2 separate regions of the Homo sapiens genome follow, and region 1 is linked to region 2. Evidence: promoter capture Hi-C in human tissues and cell types (Jung and others, 2019). All regions are on one chromosome and are shown on one strand. Each heading gives the region's core, a stretch centred on a gene start or on the middle of the fragment in contact. The rest is flanking DNA. Distances are from core to core; before and after follow the strand shown. Region 1 overlaps ATG7 (autophagy related 7). Region 2 holds the start of SLC6A1 (solute carrier family 6 member 1).

Region 1 (6,217 bases), core at 1,884-4,383, 350 kb after region 2:
CTCCTGAGTTCAGCGATTCTCCTGCCTCAACTTCCCGAGTAGCTGGGACTACAGGTGTGCACCATTACACTTGGCTAATTTTTGTATTTTTAGTAGAGACGGGGTTTCATCATGTTGTCCAGGCTGGTCTTGAACTCTTGCCCTCAAGTGATCCGCCTGCCTTGGCCTCCCAAAGTGCTGGGTTTACAGGTGTGAGCCACCACGCCTGGCCAAACATGTTTTTCAAACGAAATTGCCTTCCAAAAATGTTACACATATGAGACACAGAACTTTTTTCCACGCTCTTGCCAAAACTGGATATATCAACTTTTGAAATCTCAGTCAGTTAAGTAACATTTATTGTTTGAATTTGTGTTTCTTTAATTAGCAAGGGTGAGTTTAATTTTATTTCTTTTGTGAGTTTTATTTCTTTTATTCATGTTCTTTGGGTTGTGTCTTTTATTGATTTAGAGTTCTTTTTATTGGGGCAATTAACCTTTTTTCTGTAATATGATGCAAATATTTTTCTCAGTTTATCTAAGGTGTCTTTAGCCATATAAAAGTTTTTTTCAGCTTTATGTTATTATATGTGTCAGTCTTTTCCTTTGTGGGTTATGGAACTCTTGTTTTTATGTTAGAGCTTTATGAATGTGGAAATTTTTTGGTTACATGATAAGGGGTAAAGATCTAGCTACTTTTGCACAAAATGGATTGTTAGTTGTTTTAATGGCATTTATTCAGTAATCTAAATCATCATTTTTCTGTCTTTATCAAATGCTAAACCCCCTTATATACCTGAGTCTCTTTATGGATTCTCTATTTTGACTCATTGATCTATTTTTTTATTCCTATATTCATGCTCACTGTTTTAGTTGAAATTACAATGAATTTATAGATAAATTAGAAGGGATTGATGTATTTTTATGACATTAATCCTTAGTTCTGGGAGCATGGTGTATCTCTTAATTAGATCATCTTTGTTTTTCAGTAGCATTTTCTTTATATAGGCCTTCCATGTATCTAATTGGGTTTAAATATGGTATTTCTGCATATTTAATGATGTTTTTTCCTTTAGAGATATTTTCTCCCGTTAAACTTTCCAGTTGACTATTACTGGGATGTAGGAAAAATAGTGAATTTTGCATATTTGTCTTTGGCCATCTTTCTAAACTCTCTTAGTTCTAAGAGTTTTTTGATTCTTTTGTAGCTTAATAGTATTCCTCACCAACACTTATATCTTCCTTTTCCTTGTCTTATAAGATTGGCTAGAACTCCACAGTAATGTAGAAGAATGGCAGTGAGAGTTGATATCTTTGTTTTATTGCTGACTTTAATGAGAGTGCCTCTTGTTTTTATCTTTAATTTTGATGTTGGTTTCTGGTAAGTGTTCTTTATAATTTAAAGAAGCTGATTTCTGTTTCTGCACGTTTATATCAGAAATGTCGAGCTTTATCAACTACGTTTATCAAGACAAAGTATTCTAATGTTGAGCATTCCTAGAATAAACCCTATTTGTACGTGGTATCTTATTCTTCTCATATACTCTTGAATTCAATTAGTAATGTTTTGTTTTTAAATGTTACATTTTGGCCGGGCACGGTGGCTCACACCTGCAATCCCAGCAGTTTGGGAGGCCAAGGTGGGCGGATCGTTTGAGCTCAGGAGTTCGAGACCAGCCTGCACAACGTGGCGAAACTCCATCTCTACAAAAAAAATATAAAAATTAGCCAGGCTGTAGTGGCGCGTGCCTGTAGTTGCAGCTGCTCGGGAGCTGAGGTGGAAGGATTGCCTCAGACCAGGAGGTTGAGGCTGTAGTGAGCCAAGATCGTGCCACTGCTCTCCAGCCTGCGTGATAAAGCAAGACACTGTCTCAATCAACCGATCAATTAACCAATAAATTTTACATCTCACTTCATAAGTCAAATTGGTTTATAGTCATGTTATTCCTTGTTCTATCTTTGTATATTTTATAGCTACATTATGCTAGCTTTATAAAATAAACTTAAAACGTTCTGCCTTTTTCTAAGTTCCAGAACAATTTAAATAAATGAATTATCTGTTCTTTGATGGTTAGGTAAAATTCAGTTATAAATCCGTCTGGGCCTGATGCATTTAAGAATTTTGTTGGGCCGGGCACGGTGGCTCACGCCTGTAATCCCAGCACTTTGGGAGGCCGAGGCGGGCGGATCATGAGGTCAGGAGATCGAGACCATCCTGGAGAACACGGTTGAAACCCCGTCTCTACTAAAAATACAAAAAAAAATTAGCCGGGCATGGTGGCAGGCGCCTGTGGTCCCAGCTACTCGGGAGGCTGAGGCAGGAGAATGGCGTGAACCCAGGAGGTGGAGCTTGCAGTGAGCGGAGATAGCGCCACTGCACTCCAGCCTGGGTGACAGAGCAGGACTCTGTCTCAAAAATAAAATAAAAGAATTTTGTTGGTTGGGGTAGTAAGGGTGGTGGGAATCTTTGTAAACTTTTACAGATGTTTCTGTGTTGACTCACCTTTTTAGATTTTGTACTGCTTTTCTAGCTTTAAAAATTAATTGACATAAAATACATATGGTATTCTCTTTTAAATCTTCCTTTTATCTTTTAAAAAATCTTTTCATATTCCTAATGTTGTATATTTGTGTTTTCTCTTTTTTCCTCATATTAAGCCTTGCTAGAGAGGCTTGTCTATCAGTTTTTTTGGAGCATTACTTTATTTATTCTATAATTTTTGTTTCTGTCTCATTTTGCTTTCAGATTCGTAAATATCTACTTTTATCTTTATTAATTTTTTCCTCCTTCTGTGGAATTTATTTTACTGTCTTTTTCTAGGTTCTAGAATTTTTAGATGCTTAGATTTTCCTAACATTTTTCAAAATTTCAAAGTCAACATAAAGCCATTATAGAAAATATAAAAGTCATAAAGCAGGAAAGAAGACACTCATTTTCCTACCGCTTTTTCACTTGTCACATTTCAGTGTTTAATGTGTATTTTAACATTTTATTAGATATATAATAATGTCCTTTGCTCTTACCAATTAACATGTCATTAAAAATGATGCCTGTCTATGAGGCCTTTTTATTTTTTGGGACAGGTTCTGGCTTTGTTGCCCAGGCTGGACTGGACCTTGTGATGTTCCCACCTTGGCCTCCCGAGTAGTCAGGACTGCATGAGTTCACTGCAATGTCTGCTAAAGCTTTATGACTGTAGAATATGCCTTCTGATAGGATGAAACATAACTTACTGAACCCTTCTCCTAATGTTCAGCATTAACATTGTTTCCAGTTTTTTACAATTGTAAATTGTGCTGCAAAGAACATCTTTGTGACTGCATCTTGGTCAGTATGTCAGATTATTTCTTAGGATAAATTGCTGGAAATAGGTCATAGGATATGGGTATTCTTAAGATTCTAGAAACATACTGCCAAATTGCTTTCCAGGAAGATTAGACCACTTTAACATTCTCAATCAGTAGGATGATTTTCTCCCTACCACATCCTCACCAGCATTGAGTATTGTGATTTTCTTTAATCTTTGCAGATTAGCCATTTAAACTGTGTAGCATTCCAGGAAACCAAAAGTTAAGTGTGTGCAAATACACCTGCATGTGACTAACCTATGGCATGTTTGTAATGTATCTGGCTTTCTTCCCACTACCCAGCACGTTCCCAGAGTGCCTTCCTTGCTATCCACTCATCAGTTGCTTTAAGGAATGCAAAAATACTTCAGAAATAAACATTCCCAAAGCAAGCACAAGTGACTTTATTCTGCCTCCATGGTAGGTTGCTTAGATGATGAAAATAATTTACAAAACTGGGTGGGTAGACCAAAAGGTTACCAGTGGGCTTCAAAACAGTCAGTCTAACCTATGCTTATGAAAGGCAGATTCTGGCCTGTCGTTCTCGACACAGAAAACAAATCTTGGGTCCTTGTTGGCTGGATCTCTGAAACCTTCAATCTAATTGAGTCTCTCAGTTTCTAATGGAAAGATATTGAAATAAGAGAGAGCAGAATCTTAGCCTTGTAGCCAGTCATGGCAGGACATCTCTTAGGTCAGTATGCTTACTTATGATCTACTAAAATATACCCACTGTACCCTACCCCAAGAAGTAGGCAACTTCATTTGGTTGCACCTCTGGAGAGCTCATTCATTCCCACCATTAACCAGATGTATCTCTTAGGCAAATCACTTATCTTTCCTGGGCATCAGTTTCCATATCTGTAAAACAAAGTAATTGGACCAAGGATTTTAGAGATCCCATCTACCTTTAAAATCGTATGGTTTTATAAAACTGTTATAGGAGACATAATTGAAGTCTATAAAACCGTGAAAACTATTTCTAAGAATATAGACTTGTTCCCTAAATTCCAGATTATTAATAAGGCTTTGCCTCTTGAAGAAATGGTACAAAATGTTCTAAAATATCATACAGTGGGAAATAATTTGTGAGTCATTTTTTGGAGGAGTTCATTCAGGCTTTAAATGAGCTTCAAGAGTAGTTGTTATTTATACTTAATTATTCGTTAAGGGAAATCAAGGACATTTAGGGGCTATTGCTAATCTTTTTAAAACAACAACATAGACAATTCTTATGGGATTCACCTCCAAATCTTTGGTGACACTGTCAAAAATAATTATTAGTCTGTTCCACTTGACATTTTTTAGTCTTATTACAGGAAACCAGGCACTGAGTATATAATTATGTTGTTTTCTAAGGAAAGTCAACATTCTGTTTATCGTAACCTGAATTTGCACAATTCAGTTTCTGAAGTTTCTTGTGTTTTGAGGTTCCCAAGCTTCTCCAAACCAATATTCTTTTTGAGATTTCAAGAGACAGCACCCTGTGAAATGTTCATCAGAAACACACCATGATCTCCTGTTTCCACACAGGGTTGGGGCGTGAGACACATCACATTTGTGGACAATGCCAAGATCTCCTACTCCAATCCTGTGAGGCAGCCTCTCTATGAGTTTGAAGATTGCCTAGGGGGTGGTAAGCCCAAGGCTCTGGCAGCAGCGGACCGGCTCCAGAAAATATTCCCCGGTGTGGTATGTTGTTGCTTTTGCAGAGGTTTTCTGTTATATGTATAAATGTTTAAGTCTTGGGAAATGAGGCCTGTGGCATTGAAGAAAGAGAGTCAGATATCTGTCACTTTCTACCAGCCACTCGCTATGTGGCTGAACCTCTGTTTCCTCATCTCAGAGAGGGATAAAAAAACACAACCAGGTCAGGCATGGTGGCTCATACCTGCAATCCCAGTGTGTCTGGAGTTGGTTCCTTCAGTGCGTTCTTGGTCTTGCTGACTTCAAGAATGAAGCCGCGGACCTTCGCAGTGAGTGTTACAGCTCTTAAAGATGATGTGTCCAGAGTTTGTTCCTTCAGATGTGTCTGGAGTTTCTTCCTTCCAGTGGGTTCGTGGGGTTCCTTCCGGTGGGTTCTTGGTCTTGCTGACTTCAAGAATGAAGCTGCAGACCTTCGCAGTGAGTGTTACAGCTCTTAAAGATGATGTGTCTGGAGTTTGTTCCTTCAGATGTGTCTGGAGTTTGGTGGGTTCATAGTCTCGCTGACTTTAAGAATGAAGCCACGGACGTTCGCATGTTACAGCTCTTAAAGGTGGTGTGGACCCAAAGAGTGAGCAGCAGCAAGATTTATTGTGAAGAACAAAAGAACAAAGCTTCCACAGCGTGGAAGGGGACCCAAGTGGGTTGCTGCTGCTGGCTGGGGTGGCCAGTTTTTATTCCCTGATTTGTCCCCACCCACGTCCTACTGATTGGTCCATCTTACAGGGTGCTGATTGGTCAGTTTTACAGAGTGTTGATTGGTGCGTTTACAAACCTTTAGCTAGACACAGAGCGCTGACTGATGCCTTTTTACAGAGTTCTGACTGGTGCATTTACAATCCTTTAGCTAGACATAGAGCGCTGATTGGTATGTTTTTACAGAGTGCTGATTGGTGCGTTTACAATCCTCCAGCTAGACACAGTGCTGACTGGTGAGTTTTTACAGAGTGCTGATTGGTGTGTTTACAATCCTCTAGCTAGACACAGAGCGCTGATTGGTGTGTTTTTACAGAGTGCTGATTGGTGCGTTTACAGTCCTCTAGCTAGACACAGAGTGCTGATTGGTGTGTTTTTACAGAGTGCTGATTGGTGCATTTACAATCCTTTAGCTAGACACACAGCGCTGATTGGTGCGTTTCTACAGAGTGCTGACTGGTGCATTTACAATCCTCTAGCTAGACAGAAAA
Region 2 (6,166 bases), core at 587-3,086:
TGCCCTGGGTCACATGTCTGTCTCCAGGAGGAGGGAGCCCCACCCAACCATATTGAATATGAGTGAAGGAGGGGAAGTTTCCCAAATGAAAATTGAGGTTCTGTCACCCAAAGAAGTTGAAATGAATGTCAGGCAAGCAAAAGTAGCCTTCATTTTTGCTACCCTTGTATCTCCACTCAAAGCTATGCCCCACATCTCCATCCAGACAGCTCCTACTCATCCTTCAGACCTCAGTTCAAATGGCGCTTCCTTGAGGAAACCTTCCCAAACCATCCCACACTAGACTGGAATCCCCTGCTGGACTAGAATCCCCTGCATGTGTGCTCCTGGCAGAGCTTGTCATTCTGGGTTTGTGCGGTTATTTGATGAAAGCCTGTCTCCCATACTGGACTGGCATCACCTTGAAAGCTGTGGCCTGTCTTGTCCATCGCTCTGTCCCTGGAGCCTAGGACAGTGCCTGGCACACAGGTGGAACTCGGGAAATATTTATTTGAAATACCAACGGAAGTCCACAGCACATATGACCTGGTGATCAGTGGTGGGAGGTGAATGGGTCAAGAAAGACACCAAGATTCCCTGCTCATGAGTGAGAGTGTGGGGAAACAGAAGAAGTCAGGGTGACCTTGGTGAGCACTGCCCTGGGGGACTCGAGGATGGATGAAAGCAGGGAGGAGGCCAGATTAGGTGGGGTAGAGGACCTGAGGTCCATCAGCAAAGGCCATCCCTGGGGACAAAGAGAGGAGGGGAAGAGTAGGTCTGGGCTGGAGAGAAGGAATCTTTTCTCTGAGTTCCTGGGGACCCCAGAGGGAAGGGCAGATGTGGCCCCATTCCCAGAAGCCTTTATAAAAGAGGGTGGGGAGGTCAGGCCTTGGCAAGGACAAGGGAAGGAGTCCCTACGTGCTGGATTGGGATTGGCTGGAAAGGGGACTTCTCTGGGAGAATCCCTCAAACCTCAAGAACTGAGAGAAGGGTGTCTGGGGCTCCTGCCACCATCCCTGTTTCCCTTTTAAGTAATCTGTTTCCCCATCTGTCCATCCATACACACAGCCACTTGTGTCTCCATGACCAACCGCTGGCAGTGGAAGGGTGTCCTTCCCACCCCCACTCTTACACACACTCCCAGCTGGTACCCAGAGCCTGGTCACCCCAGGCCAGGCCTGTGTTTCCAGGTGTAACGGGCAGCAGACGCTGCCCTAGGACTAGAGCAGGGAGGGGGCACGGGCCCACCCCAACCCACAGCGACCCACAGAGGGCGAAAAGAGGACGACCGCAGAGAGAAACGGAAAGGACAGGCCAACGGAAGCAGTACTGCAAGGCTGGAAGGAGAAAAGCCAGGAGGGGAGTGCTTGCTGTGAAAGACAGGGAGACAGAGACCAAGACGGACAGGCAGACAGGCTGGTGACCCAGGATGAGGCCGGAAAGAGCCATCAAAGGAAGGAGAAGGAAGGAGAGAGATTGGAGCGGGACGGCGGGGCAGGCGAGGGAAGGAGGGGGTGGGGAGAGGGAGGGAGGAAGAGAGGGGAGAAAGAGGGAGGAAGAGAGGGGAGAAGGAGGGAGAAGAGAGCGGGAGAATGCGAGAGGAAAGAAGGGAGAGGGGAGGCGTAGAAGGGGAGAGGAGGTGAAGGGAAAAGGAGAGAGCCTGCTGGCGGCGAAGCTGCAAGAGGCAGCTGCGGAGGGAGCGCGCGGCGGGCCTGGGGGAGCGCTGGGCGGGGGCGGGCGGTGCGGGCAGGGCTATACCCGAGCTGGGCGGGCTCCGGGCGCCGCGGGCCCTGCCCTCCCCCTCCATCCCTCCGGACTCGCTCCCCCCTCCTCTCCCTTCCCCGCGACCCTCCGCCCGCCCTCGGAAGACCGAGACAGCGGAGAGGTTGCGGGTGAGCTGCGCTGAGCCCAGGAGCCGAGGAGTCGGGAGCGCAGTAGCGCTGAGCCCGAGCCCGAGCGGCCCCGCGTCCCGAGCGCATCGGAGCGGCCGAGCCGCCCGGATGCAGCGCCTGTCCCGGGCAGCGCAGCCCCGGCCGCAGGTAGGAAAGGGCGGCCGGCGTCGGGGCGCGGGGCGCAGAGCCTGGGATAACGGCGCAGGAACGGCCAGAGCCCCGAGCCGCTGCCGCGAGCCGGGCCGGGTGGGGGGCGGACACCTCGAGATTCAAGCCCCCGCGCCGCACCTTCCCTGAGCCACATGAAGGAGCAGAGGCGCCGCTCGGACCCCGACGTGCGCCCAGGCCATCCGTCCCCTGGGACACTCGGGAGGCAGGAGGGCTGGAACAGAGGCGAGAGTTGCATGCCCCTTCCCTCCCGCGGTGCCCCACTGGCCCCGCAAGTTGGCACTGGATTCTGCTGGAGCCGTCGAAGCTCCCTATTCATTCCCCAGGGCATGGAGGGGACGCGGAGTGAATGACACGAGCAGCGTTGGGGGGCCGTGCGCCACTTTCCCAATCCTGGGGTCAGCTGAGCCGAGTTAGAGCTATGCCCCTCATTTGTTCTCTGCGGGCTACGGCGGGGTCGGGTGCGACTTGAGGATGGGACGTCTCTGGGACAGCCCGAGCTCTCAGAAACGTTGGCTTAAAAGCACACCGGGGCTTGGGCTGAGTGCACCGGAGCTAAGCCTAGTGCACCAGAGCTCGCGCCGCGCTCTCCCAGCCCCGACTTTCTCCAAGAGATGTGGGGTGCGGGCGGTCCCTTAGAGGGCTGGAGGACGGTGCCTCCTTGCTGCTTCGGGAACTGCGCTCCCCTTCTTGCTTTTGGTCTCTGCGTGTACTCCCCGGCGCGACACCGCTCACCACGGTAGCCTCGGGCAGTGCCCATTGGGTTCTGAGCACACGTCCCCACGGGTGGCACCCACAGATGTCCTGTTCTAGGCTTGGCTCGGTCTTCAGACAAGAAACTCAGACCGGGCAGTCCCCTATTGAGGCTCTGAGCTAATATCCTCCCAAAATAGACATGAACCACAAGGAGAATTTTTTAAAAGCCAAATGATAACACCACGTTCTTTCCGGATGTGGGGCTGGAGCGCTCATTCCCTTTCCCAGGAAGCTCAGCCTTATCCCCATGAAGAGCTGGGGGGGCGGGGAGGGCGGGAATAAAATGGCTCCTGAGATTTGTGACACCCCAAAAATCAGAGACGGTATCAGACTGAGTGGCATTGGGGGTCTACCTTTGTTTTTCTATGACACACAAGGTGGGTGTTTGGCAAGAGAGTAGGGATGTTGGGTGCTGGATAGTGCCTAGATTCTGTGTCTTTGGGAACTTTGGGGGAAGTGTCCTCCTAAGGGAGCCAAAAAGGCTGCTACCCCAGTCCCCCAAATTCCAAAACAAAAGAGGTCAGTGAAAGCTACTCGCATTTTGCATGTTATCTCTTTATCTTTGGAGCACATTGGGAAGGACTGACCCAGCTCCAGATCAGGGTCTGATTGGGGCAGGACAGACCCTCTCCAAGGCAGAGAAGGGGAAAAAGAACTTGCCCTTAGAAGTGGGAGTCCCTGGGGGAGTGGGACAGACCTTTTCCCAGAGCAGCCCTGGCAAAATGGCTGAGCCTCCCTTGAGCCTCAGAAATAAATCGTCAGGCAGGCAGCAAACAAAGAAAGAGCTCTGTCTCCAGCCAAGCACTGGCTCAGTGGCCAGTCCTTGGAGGACAAACAGTGAGTCCCAAGCAGAGAGACGCAGCCCGGCCTGTCTGGCAGAGCATCTGGAAAGTGGGGTTCCCCTAGGAACACACAGGAGAGAGGCAGCCACTCTGGAGGTAAAATCAGGGACCCTCTGTCCTGATGTGGGACACTTTATTTCAGGTCTGGAGGCTTGATGAGAAGTGGGTCTCCAGGAACTTAGATGGGGCTGGGAAGGATGTCTGGAGACCAAGGAGTAGGTAGCTTAGAGGGTAAAGATGAGGCAAAATCAAGTCCATCGAAGCCAAAAGATGCACAGTGGCCACGTCTCTCCTGCCTGCCACGGATTTTACATGCCTGGTGACCCCGGAGCAGCAGAGGCTATAAATTTTTTTACACGTGGCCCAGCACACAGCAGGACCTCAATAAACCTCTTAGAATAAAGCCTGCATGGATGGAAGGTGATGCTATCACTGGCATGGACCTACCTGCAATCTGTACCTGTCTCACTGAGCCAGGAAGGCTATAAAATGTGGCCCCTTAGTCCATAGCCGGGAATGAACGAGCCCCAGATGAGGGTTTGCTTTGAGCTGGGGCATTGCCATTTCTGGCCAGGTGACCTTGGGTACGTTCTTGTTCCTGTTGGAAGGAAGGAATGGAGTACCCAAAGCTTCCAATGTGCCAGGGATTATTCCTACAAGAACCGTGTGGAGCAGGCACTATTCTAATCCCCACTTCAGAGGCGATGAAACTGGATGCAGAGAGGGGAAGTGACTTGTCAAAGGTCACATAGCCAGGAGGAGGAAGGGCAGGGATCTTAACCCTACTGTTCTAATTTCCAGGCCAACTCTGTCCTATTGTGGGTCTCTGGGCCTCGGTTTTTCCATCTGTAAAGTGAAGTGATGGGGTGGTAGTTCCCGTGGGCCTGCCATGGGAGCAGTGGCTGGTCCTCTACCTTGGTGGCATATGACATGTGGAGAGCACCATGAAATAAATAAAGCACCAATATCAGGCCACTTCTTGCCATCACACAAAGACTCCATTCCTTGGCTTGGCTGTGAGCTCAGCAGCTGAGATAGAGTTCCATGCTACTTGGAATTTGGAGATGTCTTTTCCACCCTCTTGCTTGTCTATGGGTCTCAGGCAGAGTGTTAATGACCGTTGATTCAGCCTTGCCACCACCTTTAGCCACCTGCATCCTGAAGTCCATCTCCTTTGTCCTTAGAAGCCCATCCCTGTTGCCTAGCCCAAAATGTGCCCACCTTCCCCTTGACTACCACCCCCGCCCCAGCAGCCCCTCTCCTCAGCCACAGCCCCAATGCCAAACCCAGTTAGAGCCACTTCATCCCCTCTCTGCCCAAATGAAAACTAAAATGCAAGCGTCAGCAGGCCTGTCTATGCCTGTGTCGGGACTACCCCTTCAATTCACCCATGCAACGTCGCCTGAGCTTCTCTGTGCCTGGAGAATGGTGGGCAGGGTATAGCCCCGCTGAATGACAGCAACCTCGAATTGACTTCAGTTGCCAAGAGCATTGGGCACTTCCCCCACAAGGTGAAAAGATCATCCTGTGTCCACTGCTCTGTGGCTTGGCATGCCTCGATGCTGGCTTCTCAGACAGGCCCTGCACGGGTGGCTCTTCTTGCCAACTTTACCCCATTCTCTGAAGGGCACTGGGAGATGGAGGGGAAGAGGTTGGTGCTTGAAAAAGAAAAGATTGGGAGGCCAGATGTGCACCCCAAAATAGGACTTCCCAGGAAATGGGTCTCAGTGAGCATATTAACATCCAGCATCTTCATCTACTCCATGCTCACCTAAGACCTCTGGGGTCAGGGGAAGGGGCTATGGAGTCAGTGGGAAGTGGGCCAGTAGCAGACAGGAGAGTTGCCTGGCATAGGCAGTAGGTGTGAATGCAAGCTGTGATATTTCAGCAGAGACCTGGAATTCAGTCATAAACAGAAAAGAAAGAAAACACTAAATATTGTTCCAATGCAATTGTATCAAAAACAGTAATAACTGTCAGTTACTGCATGTTGGCAATATGCCAGGGACTGTGCTGTGTGCTTTATATCGTTGCAGTTAATTTTCACAAAACCCTGTGAGATACGTAGCATAATGATCCCTGTCAGGGTGAGGAAACTGAGGAGGAGAGGGGCTAAAGCACTTGCTGCAGGATCACTGGGCTGGTAAATAGCCTTAAAGCCCAAACTCAGTCACAGCATGCTTAAATCTCTGCCACTAAAAGCCCCTGACACTGCTTACTTGGCAATGACCATGAGCGCCCCCCGCTGCCTCCACCCCAGTTAAGGAGCTGCACAGTTTACAAAGCACTTCTTCATCCATTCCATCTGTGGAGCTTTGCCACAGCTCTGGGAGGCTGGGTGGCATGATAGCTTCTGCGTGATAACTGGGGAAGCTGACTTGCAGAGAGATGAATTTGTGCCCAAGGTCCCTCAGCTGCTAGGTTGCAGAACTGGGGTTCAAATTGAGATGTCCAGCCTGTTACAACATATTTGGGACCTAGATTTTAAATTCATTTGCAGCTAGTGCTGATGTCATGCACTCAGCCACC

What was found. Contacts are between HindIII fragments. The study calls those that stand out against the background at their distance.
Region 1: a fragment that was not itself captured here is called in contact with the fragment with the promoter of SLC6A1 in region 2 in 1 of the 25 tissues and cell types used here (small bowel).

The regions. Positions count from the first base shown.
Region 1 is chr3:11,343,018-11,349,234 of GRCh38, forward strand. ATG7 (autophagy related 7) reads left to right here. Exons shown (of 21, transcript NM_001349232.2): 14 at 4,860-5,018. Among named protein-coding and RNA genes, the nearest start is that of ATG7, 74 kb to the left of the region's middle. The HindIII fragment of the contact is 4,142 bases long and covers 1,063-5,204 here.
Region 2 is chr3:10,990,912-10,997,077 of GRCh38, forward strand. SLC6A1 (solute carrier family 6 member 1) reads left to right here and starts at 1,837. Exons shown (of 16, transcript NM_003042.4): 1 at 1,837-2,018. RefSeq lists an enhancer at 2,157-2,681. The HindIII fragment of the contact is 17,540 bases long and covers 1-5,687 here.